Linked DNA regions of Homo sapiens: region 2 is linked to region 1. Evidence: promoter capture Hi-C in human tissues and cell types (Jung and others, 2019). All regions are on one chromosome and are shown on one strand. Each heading gives the region's core, a stretch centred on a gene start or on the middle of the fragment in contact. The rest is flanking DNA. Distances are from core to core; before and after follow the strand shown. Region 1 holds the start of WIPI2 (WD repeat domain, phosphoinositide interacting 2). Region 2 overlaps FOXK1 (forkhead box K1).

Region 1 (7,103 bases), core at 1,622-4,121:
GACCGGGTTTCCCCATGTTGCCTAGTCTGGTTTCAAACTCCTGGACTCAAGCAATCCGCCTGCCTCAGCCTCCCAAAGTGTTGGGATTACAGGCATGAGCCAACACATCCGCTTTAAAGTACCTGTTTAGACTACTTTGTTTATCCCAAAATCATGAAGGCATTCTCGTTTCCTTCTAGAAATTCTATTGTTTTTACCTCTCACATCTAGGACTGTAATCCATCTCAAATTAATTTTTGAATATGGTGTGAGGTAGGGGTACTTATTCCTTTTATTGAAAAGACCATCCTTTCCTCAATGATTTCCAATGCGTTCTTGACCCTATAATTAGAATTAACTTCTGTAAGCACTCATTAGATCGTTCCACTTTCCTGCCTGTCTTTAACGGCAGACCATTGCTCTTATGGACAATAATCAGATAATGGTCAGTTCCTTGCGTAACAATACGCAGCTTGATCTGGCCACCTCCTGTCTCTCCTGCCAAATCTTGCCTTGTGTCTGCCTTTCCACTCTGAACATAGAGTTCTTTGGACAGGTCACACCCTCATCCTCAAGCCCTTCCCATATAGAGTGTTTTCATGCCCTTAGACTAGTTACTCAAACTTCAGGTCTCATCTCTTCCAGGAGCCTTCTCAATAGCACAGTCCCTGTCCCTTAAATATAGGTTGTGTGACTTCTATATATGCATTCATGGTCAGGCACAGTGGCTCATGCCTGTAATCCCAGCACTTTGGGAGGCCGAGGCAGGCAGATTACCTGAGGTCGGAAGTTCGAGACCAGCGTGACCAACATGGAGAAATCCCGTCTCCACTAAACATACAAAAATTAACTGGGCGTGATGGTGCACACCTGTAATCCCAGCTACTCGGGAGGCTGAGGCAGGAGAATCACTTGAACCCGGAAGGTGGACGTTGCAGTGAGCCGAGATTGCGCCATCGCACTCCAGCCTGGTCAAGAAGGTGAAATTCCGTCTCAAAAAAAAAAAAAAAAAAAAAAAAAATATATATATATATATATATATATATATATTCGCTCATTGTACCCCCGAGTTTCTAATTATATTTATTTATTTTATTTTTTGAGATGGAGTCTCACTGTGTCGCCCAGGCTGGAGTGCAGTGGCATGATCTCGGCTCACTGCAGCCTTCACCTCCTGGGTTCAAGCAATTCTCCCATCTCAGTCTCCTGAGTAGCTGGGATTACAGGGCCGTGCCACCACAACTGGCTAATATTTTACATTTTTCCTAGAGACAGGGTTTCACCATGTTGGGCAGGCTAGTCTCAAACTCATGACCTCAGGTGATCCACCTGCCTCAGCCTCCCAAAGTGCTGGGGTTACAGGCGTGAGTCACCATGCCCAGCCTATTTTATTTTACTTTTTAGATGGAGTCTCACTCTGTCGTCCGTCCAGGCTGGAGTGCAGAGGTGCAATCTCGGCTCACTGCAACCTCCACCTGTGGGGCTCAAGCAATTCTCCCACCTCAGCCTCCCTAGTAGCTGAGATTACAGGTGCCCACCACCATACCCAGCTAACTTTTGTACTTTTAGTAGAGACGGGGTTTCACCATGTTAGCCAGGCTGGTCTGGAACTCCCGACCTCAGGTGATCCACCCGCCTCAGCCTCCCAAAGTGCTGGGATTACAGGTAAGAGCCACCACACCTGGCCTTCTATTTATATTTAAATATCTCCCCATTATAACTTCTCTGAGGGAAAGGAGGAGGCCTATTTAGTTCACATGAGAGGTGCGTCCTAAATACTGTTGAATGAATGAATAAATTTAAGGGACGATTCTGTCCCAGGAACCCAGACAGTATGGACCTTGGAGAAACAGGACGTTTCCAGTCTCAGATCTAGCACTTGGCTAATAATTATTTCTGAGCCTCGATTTTCAAATCTGTAAAATTAAGATATACTATTCTCTACTTAGGATTGTAATGGGCATCAAATAAGATAATGTGGCTGGGCACAGTGGCTCACATCTGTAATCCCAGTACTTTGGGAGGCCGAGGTGGGAGCATCACTTGAGGCCAGGAGTGCGAGACCAGCCTAGGCAACAGAGTAAGACCCCCCCCGCCCCCACCCCATCTCTACAAAAAACTTAAAAGTTAGCAGGGTGTGGTGGCATGCATTTGTGGTCCCAGCTACTTGGGAGGCTAAGGTGGGAGGATCGCTTGAGCCTGAGTTTGAGGCTGCAGTGAGCTGTGATTGAGCCTCTGCACTCCAGCCTAGGCAACAGAGCGAGACCTTGTCTTTCAAAATAATAAAATGATAAGGTAATGCGCAGAAGCATTCAGCACAGTGATTGGCACATGGAGGGCCCATTGGGGTGTTTTTGTTTTTGTTTTTGTTGTTGTTTGAGACAGAGTCTCGCTCTATGGCCCAGGCTGGATGGATTGCAGTGGCATGATCTCGGCTCACTGCAATCTCCGCCTCCTGGGTTCAAGCGATTATCTTGCCTCAGCCTCCCGAGTAGCTGGGATTACAGGCGTACACCACCAAGCCCGGCTAATTTTTCTTGTATTTTTAGTAGAGACGGGGTTTCACCATGTTGGCCAGGCTGGTCTCGAACTTCTGATCTTAGGTGATCCGCCCGCCTTGGCCTCCCAAAATGCTGGGATTACAGGCCACCGTGCCTGGCCATTGAGTGTTATTAAGAGGAGGGTACGCAGAAAACAGACTCCCGCCAGCTCTGCCCCATGCGCATGAGCGGCCGCCGCTCGCCCTCAGCCAGGCCCAGCGCGCCCCGACGCGTCCCCACGCCTGCGTGATCCACCGGAACCCAAGCCCAGGCAGGCGGTGAGAGGGCGGGGCCTCCGCAGTGCGACTGCGCCGCTCGAGGCCGTGCGTCGCGGGGGCGGGGCCGCGCAGGCGTACCGGGTGCCCCGGCTCTGGAGCATAAACAAGAGCGGGGACGGGATGAGGCGGCGGTTGATCCCAGGGTGGCGAGTGGCGGCGACCGAGGCGGCGAGCGGGGCCCGGCGCCGACCCTGAGTGCAGCCTGACCCGCCCTCGCGCGCGCGCCCTCCCCGGCCGGGCCCACTCGCCGCGCGCCCAGCCATGAACCTGGCGAGCCAGAGCGGGGAGGCCGGCGCCGGCCAGCTGCTCTTCGCCAACTTCAACCAGGACAACACGTAAGGCCGGGGTCGGGGGTCGGAGTCGGGGTGAGGCCAGGGTCGGACCCGGGCTAGGGGGAGGGCCTCGCTGCCAAGCTCGGCGGCGTCGCAGGCTCGGCCTCCCCGCGGGCCAAGGCGCGCAGAGGCGTCCCCAGGGGCGGGCCCGGGGCGTGCAGGGAGGGGCGCCCTCCAGGGAGACCCTCGGGTGCTGGCCTGGAGCTGCGGTCCCGGAGCGGGAGAGGTGGTGGAGAGGGGGCTGCTTTCACCCTCTTGCGGGGAGGCCCCCTGGCTTCAGACTTAACTACTTCTCGCAAAGTTGGGGCCGAACTTTGGGGCTTGACTTGTCTTGGCCGCCTGTGGAGCGCTGGGTGTGGGTCGCTTCCTCTCCTCTCGTCTCCTCTTCCCGCTGCTTGCTCAGCGTCTCCCACTCACTCTCCTTTGAATCAGGCCCTTCTCCTTGTCTTTTCATCGTCTTAAGACCCTTCTCTCTCTCTTGATTTTCTTTTCTTCGTTTCTCACTGTTTTTTTGTTTGTTTTTGTTTTTTGGGGTTTGTTTTGTTTTGAGACAGAGTCTTGCTCTGTTGCCCAGGCTGGAGTGCAGTGGTGCCATCTCAGCTCACTGCAACCTCCGCCTCCTGGGTTCAAGCGATTCTCCTGCCTCAGCCTCCCGAGTAGCTGAGACTACAGGCACGCGCCACTGTGCCCAGCTAACTTTTTTGTATTTGTAGTAGAGACAGGGTTTCACCATGTTGGTCAGGCTGGTCTCAAATTCCTGACCTCAAGTGATCCGCCCACCTCAGCCTCCCAAAGTGCTGGGATTACAGGTGTGAGCCACCGTGCGCGGCCCTCCCTGTTCTTTTTGGGACATCAACTTTGATGTCTTCTCCAGCAAGTAACAAACTTAGCAATAACCTTGGCATCTGACCTAGCTAGGGAGAAACTGAGCCAAGAGAGGCGTTACGGACCAGTGCCCCAGGAGTCTCAGAGCTCCAGCGGGTGGGTCATCCTCAGGGCAAGAGAAGGCCTTAATGCCAGCCCGTGCATTCGGAACGCTGTTTGTCCCCACTGATACGGGTTGGATGCTGCCTGGGAGGAGGACTTGTGGGGATGGTTAATAGATGAGCGAGCTTTCTGGAGAGAGAAGGGTGAGTTATGGGGTTGGCAGGGAGGAGAGCCATCTTGGAAGTGAGTAAGAGGAAGTGAGGAAAGAGAAGGAGTGGGGCATTTGGCATCTTACTAAGTCATTGGTTGAGTTGTTACTGGCTGAGTGGAATTAACATAGCAGAAGGTAAGATTCTTTAGGAAATTAAAAGTGAATTGTAGAATGGACAACACTCAGTGGGTGGTGTACAGCAGGCACTCAATAGCACCTCCCCAAAGCTGTGAAGACAGTCGCACAGTGGGACTGTATTGAGAGTCGGAAGGGGCAAATCACCTCATCCAACTACAGATGAGGAAATCCTTCCGAAAGGCTCCAAGCTGGTCTGGGTTTTGGAATTGGTTAATAGTGGAGCGGGGGCAGGAGTGGAATCTCGCCTCCTGAGCTCTCTTCCAATGTTCTTTCTGCTCTGCCATGCTGTTTTTTTTTCTGTTTACAGAGTAGAATTCTGAAGACAGTGAATTTAGAAATAATAGCATAACAACGTGTAAAGATGAAAACTCCCAAGTACTGTAGCGTTCTGTGTGACCAAAAGCCAGAACAACAAACAATTCGGACAACCTGTTGCAGTTCAAGTGGAATAGACTATGTTAATCCAGATAGGGAAAAGGACACATCCCAAACCAATTCTAATTTGGTTTTTAAGCCCAAGGCCACAGTATTTTGAGACCAGTAAGAAATGGTAGTAGTAGTAGGGTGGTTTATGCCTTGTATAAATTAGAGAGTTTCCAAAACATTGTCGGCCACTCTTTCAGTTTTTCACTAATTATTTCTATCAGAATGAAATCAAATAGAGAAAAGCATTCTCTTTTACTGTTACTTCAGCTGGACTGCCATGTTCCCTGTGTCACAGAAGAGTGTCACTCTGGCCTGAAATAGGACCTTTTCACACTTGGACATTTTCACACTTACCCACTTCTCCATGCTCCCCGAAGTTATTACAGTTCAAGAGATTTCTGTTACTTTGAGATTTCATAACTTTGACTTGCCAGAGAGACCTTGATGTAGTGTAAACCTAAATTGGAATGAATAGTAAGCTAGGATTATACTAGAAGTTGACTGGGCTAAAATGACGGTAATTTGTTTTAAATCTACACTTGAAAGAAATAGAGAAGTTCCCGGAGAGAGCTTTTATGGCTTATACCTTTTCCTCCCTTCTTAATCTCCAGAATTTATTGAGGAGCACAATTTTTAGCAAGTGAAAGAATGACCGTCTAGAACTCACATTTACTGTATGCAGTGAGAAAATTTGGAAGCCAGTTCACTTACTAGAATATATATGTTATAGGGTCATTTCCCTTTTTTTTGTCTTTTAAATTCTTTTTGTATTTGTTACATACCAAACTATAACTGTCCTGCCTTTCTTTACTGGTAATATGATTTCCAATGTCGTACTTTTTCATGATTCCTATCCTAAAAGTGTGCATAAGTTTTATTTGTTTTTTACCATTTGTTTTTTGTTTTGTTTTGTTTTTTTACCTAGAGAAGTGAAAGGGGCATCAAGAGCAGCTGGTCTTGGCCGTCGCGCTGTTGTCTGGTTAGTTCCAACCCTGGTTTCTGAAAGTATCACCTTGGAAGGCTTATGTTAGAGGACTTTTTTGGCTTTTTGAAATTGCAGTGAACCAGTTAATAAGTGGGAGAGGATCACTTGAATCTGAAATGGAAATATCAAGGACTACATTTTTCCAGTGGATACCACAGCTTGTGGGAAGTTAGTGATGTAGCAATGTCTGTTTTAAATGCCATGTCTAAAAGGGATGGAATGAAGAAAGGGACTTGACTTTCCAAGTCTTGTGTTTGTAGAATTGATGTTATGAAGTGTGTGGAGACAACAGGAGAAACCTGTTGTTTTCTTCCACCATGTCTCTTCTAGGTTATGCTTATTGTGCTGGGAAGGTACTGCTCTCCTCTCTTTGTTCATCTGTAAATCAAGGGTTTGGGTTTTTGTTTTTGAGATGGAGTCTCACTGTTGCACAGTTTGAAGTGCAGTGGCATAGTTATAATGATCATAGCTTACTGCAACTTTGAGTTCCTGGGCTCAAGCGGTCCTCCTGCCTCAGCCTCCCGAGAAACCGGGACTACAGGCGTAGGCCCCACACCTGGCTAATTTTTTTTTTAGTTTTTGTAGGCACAGGGTCTTGCTATGTCGACCAGGCTGGTGTTGAACTCCTGGCCTCATGCGATCTTCCTGCCTCAGCCTCCAGAGCATTGGGATTACAGGTGTGAGCCGTTGTGCCCGGCCTGAAGATGGTTTCTAAGATCCTTCACCCTTAAAGTTTTAAGTAATTCTGCCTGCTATGCAAAGGATATGTTTGAGGAGGGCAGGGGGTGACTTAGGAGGATATCATCCAACAGCAGTGACCAGTGGGAAGGAGACTGTCTCGCCATCAGGACTTGTGTGACCCACAGGACGTGCATCATGCAGCCAAGGGAGAACTTAGGTGACGCCCAGTTTCTGGCTTGGGTTCTGGGTGAATGTGATAACATCGTGGTGAAAAAGCCGAGAAGGAGAGAACTCTGCTTGGGGATACTGATGAGTTGGAAAGGCCACAGGGATATGGAGGTGGAGGATGTGAGGGGGAGCGGGGATGGGGGTGGGCTGTCCATAGCCCTGAAAGAGAGGGCACCAGGGCCTCCCAGGTCTGGGCTGGCAGCCACAGTTGAGGTTGCTTTTGGTTTACAGTGTCGGGCTCTATCCGCCTAAGCACGCAATCAAGTATGGCTTCTCCGCAAAGATGATGAAGAAGGAGAGTCTTTACGGACTGACGATTAGGGAAGGGGGAGAAAAGGAAAATAAGCAAAAAATCTGACTCACATCTTCATTTTTGAG
Region 2 (7,103 bases), core at 1,738-4,237, 430 kb before region 1:
GGAGGCCGAGGCAAGTGGATCACCTGAGGTCAGGGGTTTGAGACCAGCCTAGCCAACATGGTGAAACCCCTGCCTCTACTAAAAAAATTCAAAATTAGTCGGGCATGGTGGCAGGTGCCTGTAATTCCAGCTACTGGGGAGGCTGAGGTAGGAGAATCGCTTGAATCTCGGAGGCAGAAGTTGCAGTGAGCCGAGATTGTATGTACCACTGCACTGCAGCCTGGGCGACAAGAGCAAAACTCCGTCTCAAAAAAAAAAAAAAAAAAAAAAAAAAAAAAGTAATACAAATGAAACAATACACACTACAACAGCTGTTTACATAGCAGGTACATTTGTTAGGGATTATAAGTAACCTGGCGATGATTTAAAGCTTACAGGAGGATGTGCACAGGTTGTATGCAAATGCGACACCATTTCTATGAGGAACTTGGGTAAGCATCTGCAGATTTGGTACCCACAACCCCCGCCCCTCAAGTACCGAGGGGTGACTGCTGGTTTCGGCACTTAAAGACTGCACCATTTTCTGTTTTTGTTTTGAGAGAATATCTCAGGACCAAGAACTCCTAAAATAGTAAGGTTACTAAGTAAGCCACTGACTGTTGTATTAAAAATAAGATTTTAGTTCTTAGAAGTGGAAATGTGTGTAGCAATAGGAACGGTTCCTAAGGCCAAGAATAAATGGATTGCGGTTGTGGGTCTTTTGGTAGCACTAAGCTTTCTGTTGCAGTGTGTGAGAGGACCCGGGGAGAGCCCAATCTTCGAAGGGACAGATGAGGGGTATGACCTGGGGAGCCCACAACCGCCTTTGCTTTTCGCAGATGCTGGGAACGCAGCTCTGCTGCCGGCGGGGTGGACAGACCCTCCCCCAGCCATTGCTGCCCACCTGCTGCGTCAGGGCCTCCCCTGCCCAGCTCAGTCTTGGCCAAGCCCAGTCTGGAGGAGCATGCACCGCCTGTGAGCGGTCTGGGCAGCGCTTCCCAGGTTGCCCATCAGATGAGCCCGTCCCAGGTGTCGAGGAGGAGATCTCCTGAGCGGCAGTCTCGGAAATCCTTCCCCGTGGAAGGACACGTTAACCTCTCGTGCTTCCCATTTCAAAATTCTGTTTCCAACACGATTTGATGAAAGATTGAAATATCTGAAAATTCATTTCGAGCACAGGGTCTGGCATTGTGATTCTCAGGTGAACTGGGCGTATGGTTGAGGTAGGACTTCAAAAAAGTGTTCGAACGTCATTTGCAGCATTTAAACTGAGCTCCAAATGACGTTCAAACACCCCTCTCGGGTAGAGTTTTCATGGTGGAACGGTTGCGCCCACCAAACAGAAGCTTATGTTTTTGGCACAGAAGGCCTGGGCCATTTTCATGGACACCTGGCTGGACCTCGGTGGAAGTGAACTCCGTAGGTTGTTGCGTTCACTGCAGCACCTCACATGATACCGTCCCCTCTCATGGAACGGAGCCTCCCCCATGCAGCCCCCACTCAAATGGAGTTTTAAAGGCTGGGTTCAGGTTACGGGGGCGTTTCTCACCGTCTGAATGCGGAGGACAGAGACGAGCTCCAGGGAGCGTGGGCGGGTGACGGCGCTGAGATGCGTGATGTCTCGGAAACGTCCTCGCATCCCTCAGCGCGGGCGCTGACTGCCGCGGCCCTTGCCTGTCTTCCAGGAGCGCTCCAGCTTCGCCCACACACCCCGGGCTGATGTCCCCTCGCTCCGGCGGCCTGCAGACCCCAGAGTGCCTGTCTCGGGAGGGCTCCCCCATTCCACACGACCCTGAGTTTGGGTCCAAGTTAGCTTCTGTCCCAGAGTACCGGTATTCCCAAAGCGCACCCGGTAAGGAGCGGGCGGCCCTCTTGCGGGGCGGGGCGGGGCGGGACTCGTGGGGGTGCGGGAGGGGTCACCGTCCGCTCTCCGCCCTCCGTGCAGGCTCCCCCGTCAGCGCCCAGCCAGTGATCATGGCCGTGCCTCCCCGACCGTCCAGCCTCGTGGCCAAGCCCGTGGCCTACATGCCCGCCTCCATCGTAACCTCACAGCAGCCCGCGGGCCACGCCATCCACGTCGTGCAGCAGGCCCCCACCGTCACCATGGTCAGGGTGGTCACCACATCTGCCAACTCGGCCAACGGATACATCCTCACCAGCCAGGGCGCGGCGGGGGGCTCCCATGATGCGGCGGGCGCAGCCGTGCTGGACCTGGGCAGCGAGGCCAGAGGTAATGCAGCCGCGGCTGGCAGCCTTCGCAGGACCCTTTGTGGTGGTCCCGGCCGGCAAGTCCCCAAGGCAGCGCCATTGGCCTGGGCCTGGGGCTTGAGGAGGATGATTCTCTGCTTCTGCCTCTCGCTGCCTTGTCCCTTTAAATCAGCATGAGCTGGGCAGGTGGCTCATGCTTATAATCCCAGTGCTTTGGGAGGCCAAAGCGGGTGGATTACTTGAGGTCCGGAGTTCGAGGTCAGCCTGGCCAACATACTGAAACCCCGTCTCTACTGAAAATACAAAAATTAGCCAGGCATGATGATGCGCTCCTGTAGTCCCAGCTACTCAGGAGGCTGAGGGAGGAGAATCGCTTGAAGCCTGGAGGCAGAGGTTGCAGTGAGCTAGACTGCGCCACTGCACTCCAGCCTGGGCGACAGAGCAAAACCCTGTCTCAAAAAAAAAAAAACCCATGAATCTCCGCAGATGTGTCCTTCCTTGTTGAACAGGGCCCTCGGATGCACATAGCTGTGTCCTTGCCCTAAGGTAACGTTAAATTGAGTTGTGTTGCGGCCTTGCATGCATTTGGAATTTAGTGTTTTCTGCAGGAGAAAGAATGAGCCTGGGAAGACTGTTCTTTTCGACTCCCTCGTAAGTTAAAGACTTTAGAAGTCATTTAGGGAAAAAGTAGTTCTGAATTGCTAAAAGAAATCCGATCCCAGGGCTTGACGGGGTAGACACTGAACATGCAGCTGACCCCAGAAGCTCCTCTCCGGAACGCCTGCAGTTAGGCAGCGCCCTCCTAGGCCACTCTCCACCCTGGACTTCCTCTCCGCGGTGGTGTTTGTTTCAATGCTGCCGTAATGAAACTGCAGTTTGGTGAGGGAAGGCCAAGTTACAGCTGTAATCAGGATCATTTCATTCCAAGTAATACGTTTTCTTTCTCAGACTAAATTTGGGTTGGTTAAAGCTAAGGTATTTAAAATACTGTTCTAGGCCGGGCGCGGTGGCTCACGCCTGTAATCCCAGCACTTTGGGAGGCTGAGGCAGGCAGATCACTTGAGGTCAGAAGTTCAAGACCAGCCTGGCCAACATGGTGAAACCCCATCTCTACTGAAAATACAAAAATTAGCCGGGTGTGGTGGCAGGCGCCTGTAGTCCCAGCTACTCAGGAGGCTGAGGCAGGAGAATCGCTTGAACCCGGGAGGCGGAGGTTGCAGTGAGCCGAGATGGCACCCCTGCACTCCAGCCTGGGCGACAGAGCAACAAAATTCTGTCTCAAAAAATAAATAAGTAAGTAAAATATTGTTCTAAAACCCTAGTAATTTTCTTCCCAAACCTATTTCACCCATGGGATTTTCCTCTAGCAAACCTATTTTTTCCCAGTGCCGACCTCACTTTCCCCACTTGTCCGACCTGCTGCCCAGGCGTCGAGGAAATCGATTGTCTCGTTGGCCGAGTGTGGTGCTGACTTGGTTCCTGTCCCGCAGGCCTGGAGGAGAAACCCACCATTGCGTTTGCCACAATCCCCGCGGCTGGTGGAGTCATCCAGACGGTGGCCAGCCAGATGGCCCCCGGGGTCCCCGGACACACGGTCACCATCCTGCAGCCCGCCACACCCGTGACCCTCGGGCAGCACCACCTTCCAGTCCGGGCCGTGACCCAGAACGGAAAGCATGCGGTTCCCACGAACAGTTTAGCCGGCAACGCTTACGGTGAGGCCCTGGCCCTGTTCTCCATGCCACATCCCAAGCTCTGTGGCTCCCAGTAGTCAGTGCGGCATGAGAATGTTCTCCCAGTATCTCCCGATCCTCCACTCAGTTCAATTTATTGAGCACCTGCTATACTCCAGGCACTGGGGTAATGCAAAGAAAAAGAGGGTGGAAGGGGCCACCTATCATCCCAGCACCTTGGGAGGCCAAGGCAGGCAGATCGCTTGAGCTCAGGAGTTCGAGACCAGCCCGGGCAACATAGCAAGACCCCATCTCTACATAAGATTCAAAAACTTAGCCAGGTGTGGTGTTGCACGCTCATGGTCCCAGCTGCTTGGGAGAGTGAGGCTGTAGTCAGCTGTGATTGCTCCGCTACCTGCCAGCCTGGGTGACTGAGCGAGACCCTGTCCCTTTAAAAAAAAAGTGGGGGGAAAGAAAACAGGGTGGAAGGAAAACCCAGATCTGCCCACTCTCTGGAGCTCACACTCCATGGGGTGAGGCAAGAGGTCAAAGGAAGGAGGAGAGTTGGGGTGCTGGGGTGCAAGGGTGCTGGGCGGGGGTGCAGGGTACCAGGGCACCGGGCGCATTGTCAGTGGGGTGGCTCAGGGCAGTGCATCTGTGTAAAGGAGTGAGGCAAGCCGTCGATGTCCAGCAGGATCTAGACAGCAATGAGAGGGGCCTCCACCCAACAGGCTGGAGCCAGCAGAGACAGGGCAGATGAGGTGGGGAGGGGACGGCAGGGCCCGCAGGGAGCAGAGCAAGGGTAGCCGTCCTGCCTGGCAGGGGTGCACTGACCTCCGGTTCCGGCTTGGTGGCTTAGCCCCTGTATAGGGGACTTGAAAAAAGCAGCTGGGTCCTAACCAGACCCCAGAGTAACCCTCTTCTTCCTCCACTCCAGCCCTCACCAGCCCTTTGCAGCTCCTTGCGACCCAAGCGAGTTCATCCGCGCCGGTGGTGGTCACCCGGGTGTGCGAGGTGGGGCCCAAGGAGCCAGCAGCAGCCGTCGCGGCCACGGCCACCACCACCCCAGCCACTGCCACCACCGCCTCTGCCTCCGCCTCTTCCACTGGAGAGCCCGAGGTCAAAAGGTCCCGGGTGGAGGAGCCCAGTGGTGCTGTAACCACACCGGCTGGAGTGATCGCAGCTGCCGGCCCCCAGGGGCCAGGCACCGGGGAGTGAGGTCACCTGCAACGCGGGGGAGTGGGACTCACCCAGCGGCGACCCCGAAGCTGGACCCGGCAGCTCAGGCGGCCGCACCCACAGACGGAGGAGAACAGCCCGCGGCGGCCTGTGGGCATCGGCGGCACCTGGACACACCCAGCCCTTTCCATTTGATCGCCTGCCTTCCCGTGGTTTAAGACAAAAACACATAAACAAGTTCAGACAACTGATTGTATGATTCTGGGAATTCTTTGCTTTCCTTTCCTTCTCCCTCGGCACCACCTCCTCTCCCCAGGCCTCCCTGTCGGGCATGGGGAGGAGGTTGGAGCTCAGCATCTTGAGGAATGTGTCAAGACAGCCCCTCCGCTCCGCGCTGCACGGCCAGCCGCCTTTGTCCGGGAGGACAGACAGAAACGCAGCAAGGCACACACCAAGGCTGCCGGGGAGGCCCGGGCACCGGACAGATGCCTGTTGGGAAGCCAGGAGCTGCCGAGCCACGGACCACCTAACAGCCTCTCCGCCCGGAACGTGACATAGAGAGTGTTGGCATTAACTCGGGGGGTGTCCGATTTCACTTCAGACCCCAAGTTTTTCTTTGTTTGTTTAAACATGGAATTCAGACTTCATTGTACACCTGAGACAGACACAAAAGGGATCATGTATTTTTGAGGATTTTACCTGTTGACGTCTGATGACCGGCCGTAGGTCCAGGGTTCCCGCTGGGTTTAATCCCCTCGAAGAGTAAACCTGCCGCTCTGTCTGATAACTTCAAGTAAGAGCAGCGGCTTCCTGGGTTGGCGTTCGCGGTGGAAGGTTCCTAGGATGAAAGGTGAGCCTGGATCCGCCGGCCGCAGACATCGCGCTGCTGGGGACGATTGGGGCCGCTGCTCTGCAGACCAGACCTTCCCGAATTATCCGTGGCTCCGATGTCCCGGTGCTGACGGCCACATGGGGACCTAACAGTGCCAAACGCCATCTGCTCCAGCTGCTTTTTCACCCAGTTGCAGAGTCCTCACCACTCCCACATTGATCTGCTGTTTTCAATTGGAACCATTTCTCCTGCCTGAAACTCCAGGGCCCCTCCCTGGGCTGTCCGTGAGCAGGAGACCCCACCCCAGCAGCAGTGGTGAGCAGGCCTGTGCCTCCACGCCCAGCCCCCGCCAACGCGACTGGTTTTGTTTGCCACACGGTGAGAACCGGAGGACGGGATGCTCCAGCCAGTTGGGTGGTTCTGGGGTCCCTGAGGAAGCCCCCTCCTGCACTTCCATTAAGACAGCCAGTGGTTCCTGGATCTTTGTCACCAAGCAGCGTTGAGCCAGAGCTGTCTAATGCTGAGCCCAGCTCAGGAAGGAGAGAGGAGTCCTTCAGTGTGTCTTGGAGATGCGAAGTGCGTCCTCGTAAAGGTCAGCTGTCAGTTTTGCTGGCCGCTCCGGCGCTGGCTCTCCTGTCCGGGACCACAACGAGAAACAGCGACAGATTCGACGCAGAGCTCCGGAAGTGCCTGAGGAGCAGTGGTTCTTGGAAATCGCCCGTCCTCCGCATCACAGCCTCTCACCAGCAAAGCAGCCTCTGCCCAGGCCCTGGCGGGAGAGCTGCAGAGGGACCCAGGTGCCTGGAGGGCATTTGAGGGAGGTGGCTGGACAGGTGTCTCCCTGAAGAAGAAGGGAGAACACTTTTCAAAGTGATTCCGAGGCAGTGCGGGAGGACACACGTGCTGTGCAGTGGAGTGGGGTCGCCCGTGGCCCCCATCAGAGTCCCCGTCCCCCAGGACAAGTGCAGAACCTCTGTGGGCCCCCTCCTTCCACCTAGATAGAGAAAACCCCTTGTTCGGTTTCCTTCCCGTGTCCCGTTGTTTTTCTAAGCCCCCCGAATTGAGTCGTTTCTATGGCACTAACCTTTCCATGGGAAATAAGCTCTTTGTGGAAGTCCGTACCTGTTGCCCTGGGTGAGGTTTCAGAGAAACGGGGGCAGGATGAACACAGCCGGCTGTCCTGGGTGCAGTTACGTCCGTGGAGGGTGAGAGATTGCGCCCCGTTCCACACT

Evidence for each region. The method cuts DNA at HindIII sites, captures the fragments that hold promoters and counts their contacts. A contact is called where the count stands out against the background at its distance.
Region 2: a contact is called between a fragment that was not itself captured here and the fragment with the promoter of WIPI2 in region 1, in 1 of the 25 tissues and cell types used here (dorsolateral prefrontal cortex).

Annotation. Positions count from the first base shown.
Region 1 is chr7:5,187,362-5,194,464 of GRCh38, forward strand. It overlaps WIPI2 (WD repeat domain, phosphoinositide interacting 2), which reads left to right and starts at 2,872. Exons shown (of 13, transcript NM_015610.4): 1 at 2,872-3,132; 2 at 5,757-5,810. The coding sequence starts at 3,059. RefSeq lists silencers at 2,657-3,306, 3,317-3,366. The HindIII fragment of the contact is 24,553 bases long and covers 1-7,103 here.
Region 2 is chr7:4,757,387-4,764,489 of GRCh38, forward strand. It overlaps FOXK1 (forkhead box K1), which reads left to right. Exons shown (of 9, transcript NM_001037165.2): 6 at 1,665-1,831; 7 at 1,925-2,209; 8 at 3,678-3,902; 9 at 4,798-7,103. The coding sequence ends at 5,078. Among named protein-coding and RNA genes, the nearest start is that of AP5Z1, 15 kb to the right of the region's middle. RefSeq lists an enhancer at 3,035-4,234. The HindIII fragment of the contact is 4,891 bases long and covers 543-5,433 here.